Regions from separate parts of the Homo sapiens genome. Here regions 1 and 3 are each linked to region 2. Evidence: promoter capture Hi-C in 16 types of primary human blood cells and fetal thymus (Javierre and others, 2016). All regions are on one chromosome and are shown on one strand. The core of a region is centred on a gene start or on the middle of the fragment in contact, and the rest is flanking DNA. Distances in the headings are between cores, read along the strand shown.

Region 1 (2,850 bases), core at 351-2,850, 2.0 Mb before region 2:
CAAATCAGAAAAACGCTCTCCATCATCCAGGCAGATGCGGCCCAGCCTGGCAACAGTGGCTTGGATGGGGTTTCAGCCTCCATGCCCTCCCAATCAAGTCACCAACCCTCCCGCTATCCGGGAAGGCCCTGCTCGTCCAACTCAAATACAGAAATTGGGTCCGACCCACCAGGTATCTATTCAGGTGCTATTTTTACAAATGAAAAGTTTAGCTTCACAAGGAGTACAATCTCACTCAGAAGTTAAATCAATAACCCCTAGGAAGTTTCATTTTTATGTCAAAGACGAAGTCAGGGGGCCAGGTAGGACTTGGAAGGCCAAAGGTCACTTACGAAGACTGCAGGACTGCACACACCAGGCCTTCCCCAACTATCAGGGTGAACATAGGTTTGGCTTAAAAACACACACACGCAAAACTGGCCCATGCAACAGCAGTCTATTCCCACCGCACAATCCGCCCAAGCAGGCTGGAGCTGGTCCAAATGAACTGCACCCAACCACAAGAAAAGACTCCTCCTTTCCCTTTTTCAAAACACAAGAAAGGTGGCTAAACTACTGATGAGCTTTGAACAGTTAAGTAGTAGTTTTGTAAGCTTTGTAGTTACAGTCCATTTTCCCTTCCTTTGAAGGAAAAAAGGCATTAAAAAAAAAAGATGTCTCTCTTTTGCCCTTTTACATTTATTCTAGTCAAAAACTGCTCTCTGCCAACTTTGTTCTGAAAATCCACATCTGAGTTCCAGCGAAGTTTTCTACTTGGGGACATTTGGCTAAATTCTGAGTCCCCTTTTCTTCCTTTTTAGAGAGAGACGTAAGCTCTCTCTGGAGTTTAAAGCCTGTAACAATAATGTATTTACCGTACTTTTGCAGAACTGATAGTTACACTTTTACCATTGTTATATAGAATTGCTAAAGTCTTAAAAGTAAAATACTAGTATAGGAGGCATATTATAATAAACCTCTTACTCCTGTCCTTTTCCAATGAAAGACCAATTTTCTAAAACACAAAAGCCAAGAAAATCCTAAAACTCACATACACTTAAAATAAATAAGAACGACAACTCATTCAAGTCTCTTTAATAGCTAAGAGAAAAATCCTTTTTTCAGTAATGGTATTACTGAAGTATTAATTGTTTGAATAACCATACATTTTATTTGGTTACCCAAATATAAACGGTTAAAGTCTCAAGCAGTTTGATGACTTCATCTCAATACAATGTCACACTTCAAACTGTTCAGACAGCATATTTTTAAGACAACTTATAAATCCAGCAACTTAAACTTCTAGTCAAAGTATAGATTCCCTCTCTGCTGGGGATGTAGATTTTTTTTGGGGGGGTGGGGGGTGGGGTTCAATTTTGCTGGATGAAGACCAAAAACTGCAAATCCTGTTATCTCATTTCAAAATAGATTATGTTAGTTTAGCCCCTAATCAAACCAAATCTTTTAAGATTAGTCATTCCTTAGTAAAATCTTCCCACAATAAATACCAAAGCTACGATAGACATAAAATGCTTTAAGATAATATGAGCCTTTTTCTACAAGATGAAACAGTTCCATTAAGACAAACTGAAGATTCTGGATGTTCACTCGGGCAACAGCATGTGGACTTGGAAAGCTCTGTTTTTTAAAAACCCACTCGGCTGAGTTGTTTGCCTTTGGCCACCATCCAAATAAAAGAAACGCTGCCAGAAGTGTAAACAGGATGCATTTCTTTACATTGATGAATCCAGCAAACAAAGACAGCGCCTCTTAGTTCCTCTCGAAAACTGAAGTGCAAGATACCTTTTAGTGTAAAGGTCAGCGAGAAACTGACGAAGGGAGGCAGTAAGCCGTCAAACCAGCCATCAGAGCCTCTGCCATTTCACAGCGCAGCCCTGGCCCCACCATAACTCCGCGGATTTGCCTTCCGCAACAAATGCACTGCCGTACGGGATCAGGCCTATTATTTCTCTAAGAAAGCCCCCTCTTGGCTCTGCCAGTGACTATACCGAGGGCTCACCTCAGGCAATGAAAAGTGGTGGGTAACGAATGGGGAAAACCCAAAAGGCGGTAAACTTGGCTCCTGCTATGGGAGAACTTTCAAAACAAGCGTAGCAGCAAGACAGAGCACGAGCAGATAAGCGACAGTCTCAGATGCAGAGTACAGAGGCCAGCCCCATAACTGGAAGGACAGGACCGTCGGAGGACAGCCAGAATCGCCACCGCTGGTGAGGCCTCGCTCACAGACAGGCTGTGGAGAGCTAAGAAGTCTGTGTGAGAAAGGGGACGATCGAGGGCTTTGGAAAAGGAGAATGGCAAGGTCTGAGGCTGCCTGCAGGTCCCGTGGCAGGTGGGACAGGAGGCAGGGAAGGAGCAGCTAAAGCAGGAGAGTGATCAGGAGCCCCCTAAGTGCTCTCACCCCAAGTGCTCTCAATAAAAGATGGAGAGATCCAAAACCAGGAATTCACCAAACCTGCAGAGCACGGAGAGCAGTGAGGGCCCTGTTGTGTAAGCACAATACCCACCAGTTCTCCCAAGTCAGGTCCACAGGAGGGGATGGCTTAGAAGGGGTGACATTTAGGTAGGTTTTCAACAAATTTAGTTCAGTTGGACAGTGGGAAATCCAAGCTAAGCTTCTCAAGAGGAGATGGAACTGCAGAGAAAACTCTGGGTTTAGGAATGGCATAGGAGAAGCAAATTATCATCATTAGCTTTTTTCAGCTGCCTTGAAAAGGTTTTCCTAAAAGTCCAAAACAAAACAAAACAAAACAAACAAACAAAAAAACAACTCCAAACCAATCCAGATTTCCCCAGATCTCCTGAACTGGAAAGTGAAAATCCAGGGCTCCATTTCAAAACTCACAAGCCAGC
Region 2 (3,107 bases), core at 70-2,569:
GGAACTCCTGCAGGAAGCCCTCCCTCCTCCTCCTCCTTCCTTCCATCCAGGGGTCTTCTCGGGGCTTATCCCTTCAAGGCCTAACCTTGACCCACCCTATCTACGCAACATTGATTCCCACCCCTACCCTATTCCCCAGAACCTTCAGCAGTGCCTAGCGCAGCTAGGACTCAATCATCGCTTGTCCACTTAATGAATGACTCTTGGCACAAATTTCCTCGTCCTTTTCTGCCCCAGACAGACACCCCACAAACATGAAGTTACCCTTGATTTTTCCACTTTCTTCCTCCTGCCTGCAAATTCCTCAATCACAGGTGGTGCAAATCCTACCTCTAAATGGTACTGAATCTGCCTACTTTCGGGGCAACCTCCCTTACCTGGACCACAACTGCACCAGCCTCCTTTCTCCCTCAGGAGCTTCCCAATCCATTATCTCCCCTGCGGCCAGAGATCAGTTTCCTCCTGGGGTGCATTTAAGCCATAGGAAGCAGATCGCTACCCTAGGCCCGTCCCTCCCCACCCCTTGGTCTGGACACCCTCTGGGCTCATCTTAGGCCGCAGTCGCCGAAGCCTTCCTCCTCCGGTTGGACCCCCAACCAGGTCAGGCTGTCATAGCGTTTATCATGACGCTGGCGTGTCGCCCTGTGTCCCTCGGCCGTCTGCAGGATGGCAAACTTATGGCCAGGGCCCAGCACATTTGGGCACCCAACACATCCGTTAGAATGAACAGAAACTTCCCCTCTCCGAGCCTGTGGCCTCATCTGTAAAACAGAGATCGCGAGATCCCATGAATACCGTGGGGATTGAATAAGGGATTTTTTCGTTTCAAGCAGCAGGAACAGCGCGGGATGGGTGCTCAATAAATGGGAGCTCAAAAAATCCCCAAAACTGCCCAGAGCCGCGGCTATTCCTTGCAAACTGCTGGACACTGCTGGGCTCAGCCCACAAGTGTCGGAGTTTGCATCAGATTTTCAGGTCGTACTTAGCAAAGGGACTCCCGCACGACAAAGCTGTTTACGAAACAGAAACCAGAACTGGGGCAGTGACACTTTGGGGCCAGCAATGCCCTCTCCCAAAGCCCCAGGCGCCCAATTTCCGCCGAAATGCTTTCCGGGGTCGAAGGGCGCCGGGGCTCCAGAGTGCCGAGGTTCCGGGGTCGCGCGATTCCGCAGCTCCCAGGCGCCGACCCGGACCCCCGGCCGCGGCACCTACGCCCCGCCCCAGTCGCTCCACGCCAAAGCCCATTGGTCGGCAACCTGTCCCTCCTGCTCATGTGATGCGGCACGTGACGCAGCCACGTAAGGCCGCTGCGCTCACGTGACGCGGTCCCGGAAGTTGACCGGGGTGCGGAGCTCCTGGGCTGCAGCTCCTGGAGTTTCCGAGGTTCGTGCGCGTCTGGTGGCGGCGGCGTGATGTTCTCGGCAGGAGCGGAGAGTTTGCTCCACCAGGCCAGGTACGGGGGAGCTGCGGCCCCGGCCCTCCTTCCTGCATCTCTCCCTAGGGGCACACGGGGGTGGGTCTCACAGGGCAGGGGCTTGGGCGCCAGCCTTGCAGGAACCCGACTGGACTCGCCCTCGAGACTTGGGGATCGGGTAAGGCAACACGGCGGCCAGGCTTGGGGTGAGGAGGTCGGGGAGGGTCATGGTGGGTCCCCGGAGGAGGTGACACTTGAGCAGAGTCTTGGTGAGTGAAAGCAAGTGGGGTGGGACCCAGTCGACAGTTTAGTCAAAGGCTTGGCGGTGAGAACTCCGCGTCTGGCAGGAAATCGGGCAGCCGGGAGATTTCAGTGCCTCACAGTCAAGAACGCAAAGTCACAGTGTCCGGAGGCCTGCTAAGGAATAAGGCTGTGTGCCAGGCTGGGGAGCTGGAGGCCATCCGAGGGCTTTGCGGAACCGTGGGAGGGTTTTGTGACTTAAAAAGATCTCTCTTGCGCGGATGTATTAGCTAGGCTGAGAAATCACCCTCCAGGCTGGTTTCAGGCTGTGTCTGGACTCCCAGTAACGAGTGAGTAGCTCCTTCCTCACCAACTAACCAGTCATGGGGGAAAACAGTGTAAGCCAGGACTGAACAGACTCACGGTCCACCAAACAGGCAAAGACTTCATACTACATGTTTAAAAGAAGAAAATGCTGACCGGGCGTGGTGGCTCACGCCTGTAATCCCACCACTTTGGGAGGCCAAGGCAGGCGGATCACCTGAGGTCAGGAGTTCGAGACCAGCGTGCCCAACATGAGGAAACCACGTCTCTACTGAAAATACAAAAAAAAAAAAAAAAAAAAAAATTAGCCGGGCGTGGTGGTGGGTGACTGTAATCCCAGCTACTCGGGAGGCTGAGGCAGGAGGATTGCTTGAACCTGTGAGGTGGAGGTTACAGTGAGCTGAGATGGCGCCACTGCACTCCAGGCTGGGGGACAGAGCGAAACTCCGTCTCAAAAGAAAAAAGAAAAAAAGTAAAGAAAATACAGCCAGCACTACAGCCCCTTGGTAAACGTAAACAAACTTGGTGAGGTGAGAGGCCGAAGCAGGAGAAGTGCATGAACCCAGGAGGCCGAGGGTGCAGTGAGCCAAGATCGCACCACTGGACTCCAGTCTGGGTGACAGAACGAGACTCCATGTCAAAACAAACAAGCAAACCTGGACTCAGAGCTAGACCAATTGGTGGGAAAGATTCGGGTGGTTGAAATTGCTGTGATTATAGTGAGTGAGGTCTTGAAGGCAGGTTAAGTTCTAAAGCCCGAACAGGACAAAAATCTCTGATCAAAATAACCCTTAAGAGTCCACTCATTAGGAAGAGGCTTGGTGAATATGCAGCACCATCTCCCAGCAGCTCAACATAGGCAACCTTCCCTTCAATCCTGGACAGATATGTCATTCATGTGAATGTGGGGACTATATGAAAATGAAAAATACTGGCATCTCAGCATGTAACATGTTAATCCCAAGGTCCTTGCCAAGAGACAAGGAAAAACACCCACTGAGAACTTCATTCCCAGTCACATTCTGCTCAAGGTCATAAACTTGTGACATGAAAAACAAAAGGAAGAGCCCTCTTTATTTATTTATTTATTTATTTATTTATTTATTTTTATTAGAGTCTCTTTTGAGAC
Region 3 (3,023 bases), core at 501-3,000, 1.9 Mb before region 2:
TCCATTTGCTGGCTGTGACCTTGGAAAGCCAGCAATGATTCAGGACCGGCTGCACAATTTGTGCAAAATGAAAATGTGGGGCCTCTTGTCCAAAAAGTATTACGAATTTCAAAACAGCCACAGCAGAGCACCACGCCGAGCAAGGGCCCTTCTCAGTACAGACCCTGAGCCTCCCGAGAGTGTGAGTGCTGGGGAAATCTGGGGAAAGAGGCCAAGGCTGTCCAGAGCCGAGCCCCTCCCTGGGGATTGTGTCTGGGGCCCGCAAACTCCCCAGGCGGAGGGAAGAGCCAGTCCTCCGGAGACGCTGGGCACCGAGCCTCCTCCAGGCCCGGAGAACGAGCCTGTAGCCTGTCGCTGTTTGCTGAGGGCCCTGACCTCTGTGGGAACACACAGGAAGTGGTTCATTTTCTCCCCACCAGTGACTCACTCCCGTCAGCCCTGCCCTTTCCAATCTCTGCTTCCTGTCCCTTAGCCTCAGCTTGGGTAATTCTGGGCAATAGAAAGGCCAGTCTGGTTGAGTCTGAAACTGCCATCTCACATGCAATTTCGCACTCATCTTGTCCCCCACTGAAGGGCTGGCTTAGCCTTGGCCGGAGAGCCCTGGAGAAGGAGGGGAGAGGTCGGGGGGACTGGCTGCGGTCCTTCCTCTTTCTCCTGGCTTCTGGGGTTGGGAGGGGAAGAGGAGGAAGAGGAGGAGGAGGAGAAGGTCTGGAGTGTCGGCACAATAGTAATATCAATAACAATAGCAGCTAATATTTACTGCAAGTGGTTCTCTGGGTCTGGAGATGCTCCAAGCACTTTTCTGACCGTAAGTTATGGCATTAAGTTTTGTAACTAGGAGGTAGGTCCTGTAATAAGGTCCTGTTGTAATTCCCATTTTTCTCTGTTGAGGAAACAGGCTGAGACAAGGTAGGTAATGTGCCCAAGGCCACAAAATTAGGAGGTGGCAGAGTCAGGATTGGAACCCAAGGTCTTCCTGATTCCACATCCGTTGCCCAGTCACTCCACTGCCTCACTTTCGCAAGAGTCCATATAAAGTTCCTGAGGTTGGGGCCTGGGACCTGTGGCAAGGTAAGTGTCCAGGGATTCAGCTAAGATGAGGCTTACACTTTTTTTTTTTTTGATAGAGTCTCTCTCTGTTGCCCAGGCTGGAGTGCAGTGGCAAGATCTCAGCTCACTACAACCTCTGCCTCCTAGGTTCAAATGATTCTCCCACCTCAGCCTCCCGAGTAGTTGTGACTACAGGCATGTGCCACCACGCTTGGCTAATTTTTCTATTTTTTGGTAGAGACGGGGTTTCACTGTCGGCCAGGCTGGTCTCAAACTCCTGACCTCAAGTTATCACCCCGCCTCGGCCTCCTGAAGTGTTGGGATTACAGGCGTGAGCCACTGCGCCCGGCCTGAGATGAAGCTTATTGAGGGTACTGAGAAAGATTTTTGACTCAATTTCTGAACCTTGTGAATTCTCACAGCACTTAACAGTAAGGAATTATCTGATATTTACATGCTTGTTATCTGCTTTCCTCATTAGGATGCAAACTTCATAAAACCATTTTGTTCATCTCTTCCTGATACCTGGTATGCGCTCACTAAATGCTTGGGAACGTGAATGAATGAATGAAACGTCTTCTGACGTGATCCTTGTATCTACATCTCCTTGCTGCGGCCAAGTCTCAGGTGCACCCTGAGCTCAGTGGTGGTCTTGCCTTTGCCCAGAGTGGGATGGGGTCCAGGTGGGGTGTCCCAAGCAGCCTGAAGAACATGACTCGAAATTCCCATCTGTGACCACCAGGTGTCGCTCATGCCACACAAGGAAACCCATAGATGGCCTCTGCTGAATTAGGGGTGCAGCGGGTGGGGAAATCTCATCTGTGACCACAGATGAGTTATCCAGGCTGCCATTTGTTCTCATTAGGTCCTGGATTTCCTCCTCAGAACCAGACAGATGTGATCAGCATTGTGGGCCGAGGGCCGGCACCTCCCCACCTCCCCGGCTATGGGTAGCTGTAGGGTGTCAGGGAGGGGATGCTGGGGTTCAGGCCCCGGATTCCATCCAGCTGCAGCCGTGTCACTGCCACTCCTCCTGCCCCCAAGCTTTGGCCTTGGCTGCCCAGGTAAGGCTGGCCCGGCACAGCCATTCATCAGTGTCAGCCGCCAGATGCCCCTCACAGGGCTCCCGTCCTCCGGGAACACTCCCAGGCCCCTAGCAACAAACTCAGCTTCCTGCCCTCATGGCACCGGCATCTTCCCCACTCCTTTTGCCGGGGTCTAAGTTTGGGGTGCATGCTTCCAGCCCCAGGAGCCCCCTCAATATCACACTGAGGTTGACTTGGCCATTTCTGCTTTCAGCCAACATAACCGGGTTCTAGAAGCTTCCTGACCGCTGTGGGAGGGTCACTTGGCCAGCAGGCAAGCGTTTCTTATTCCATGTACTTGAGTGAAGCAAAACCAGGGCTGTGTTTTTTTCCTTTTTTTTTTCTTTCTTTTTTTTTTTGAAACCAAGTCTCTCTGTCGCCCAGGCTGGAGATAACAGGTGCCCACCACCACGCTCAGCTAATTTTTGTATTTTTAGTAGAGATAAGGTTTCACCATGTTGGTAAGGCTGGTCTTGAACTGCTGATCTCAAGTGAACCACATGCCTTGGCCTCCCAAAGTGCTGGGATTACAGGTGTGAGCCACCACGCCTGGCCCTTTTTTCTTTTATTTGAGACAGGGTCTCGCTTTGTTGCCCAGGCTGGAGTGCAGTGGTGGGATCACAGCTCATTGCAGCCTCAACCTCCAGGGCGCAAGCGGTCCTCTCACCTCAGCCTCTTGAGTAGCTGGGACCAGAGGTGCTTGACACCACACCTGACTCATTAATTTTTTATATTTTTTGTAGAGACGGGGTTTTGCCATATTGCTCAGGCTGGTCTTGAACTCCTGAGCTCAAAGGATCCTCCTACCTTAGCCTCCCAAAGTGCTGGGATTACAGGTATGAGCCACTGTACCCGGCTAGGACTGTGTTTTTCTGTGACCCAACCTAA

Evidence for each region. Contacts are between HindIII fragments. The CHiCAGO score rates a contact against its expected background, and 5 or more counts as called.
Region 1: a contact is called between a fragment that was not itself captured here and the fragment with the promoter of AP5Z1 in region 2, in 2 of 17 cell types (M0 macrophages and M2 macrophages). The highest score is 5.6, in M0 macrophages.
Region 3: a fragment that was not itself captured here is called in contact with the fragment with the promoter of AP5Z1 in region 2 in 1 of 17 cell types (erythroblasts); the score reaches 5.5 in erythroblasts.

What each region holds. Positions count from the first base shown.
Region 1 is chr7:2,801,065-2,803,914 of GRCh38, forward strand. All of the region lies in intron 1 of GNA12 (G protein subunit alpha 12), which reads right to left. Among named protein-coding and RNA genes, the nearest start is that of GNA12, 42 kb to the right of the region's middle. The HindIII fragment of the contact is 2,019 bases long and covers 592-2,610 here.
Region 2 is chr7:4,774,304-4,777,410 of GRCh38, forward strand. AP5Z1 (adaptor related protein complex 5 subunit zeta 1) reads left to right here and starts at 1,320. Exons shown (of 17, transcript NM_014855.3): 1 at 1,320-1,453. The coding sequence starts at 1,413. RefSeq lists enhancers at 62-738, 739-1,415, 789-838, 879-968, 1,399-1,468 and 2 more and a silencer at 1,149-1,278. The HindIII fragment of the contact is 11,700 bases long and covers 1-3,107 here.
Region 3 is chr7:2,863,414-2,866,436 of GRCh38, forward strand. No RefSeq gene overlaps it. Among named protein-coding and RNA genes, the nearest start is that of GNA12, 21 kb to the left of the region's middle. RefSeq lists an enhancer at 296-425 and a silencer at 1,203-1,282. The HindIII fragment of the contact is 683 bases long and covers 1,410-2,092 here.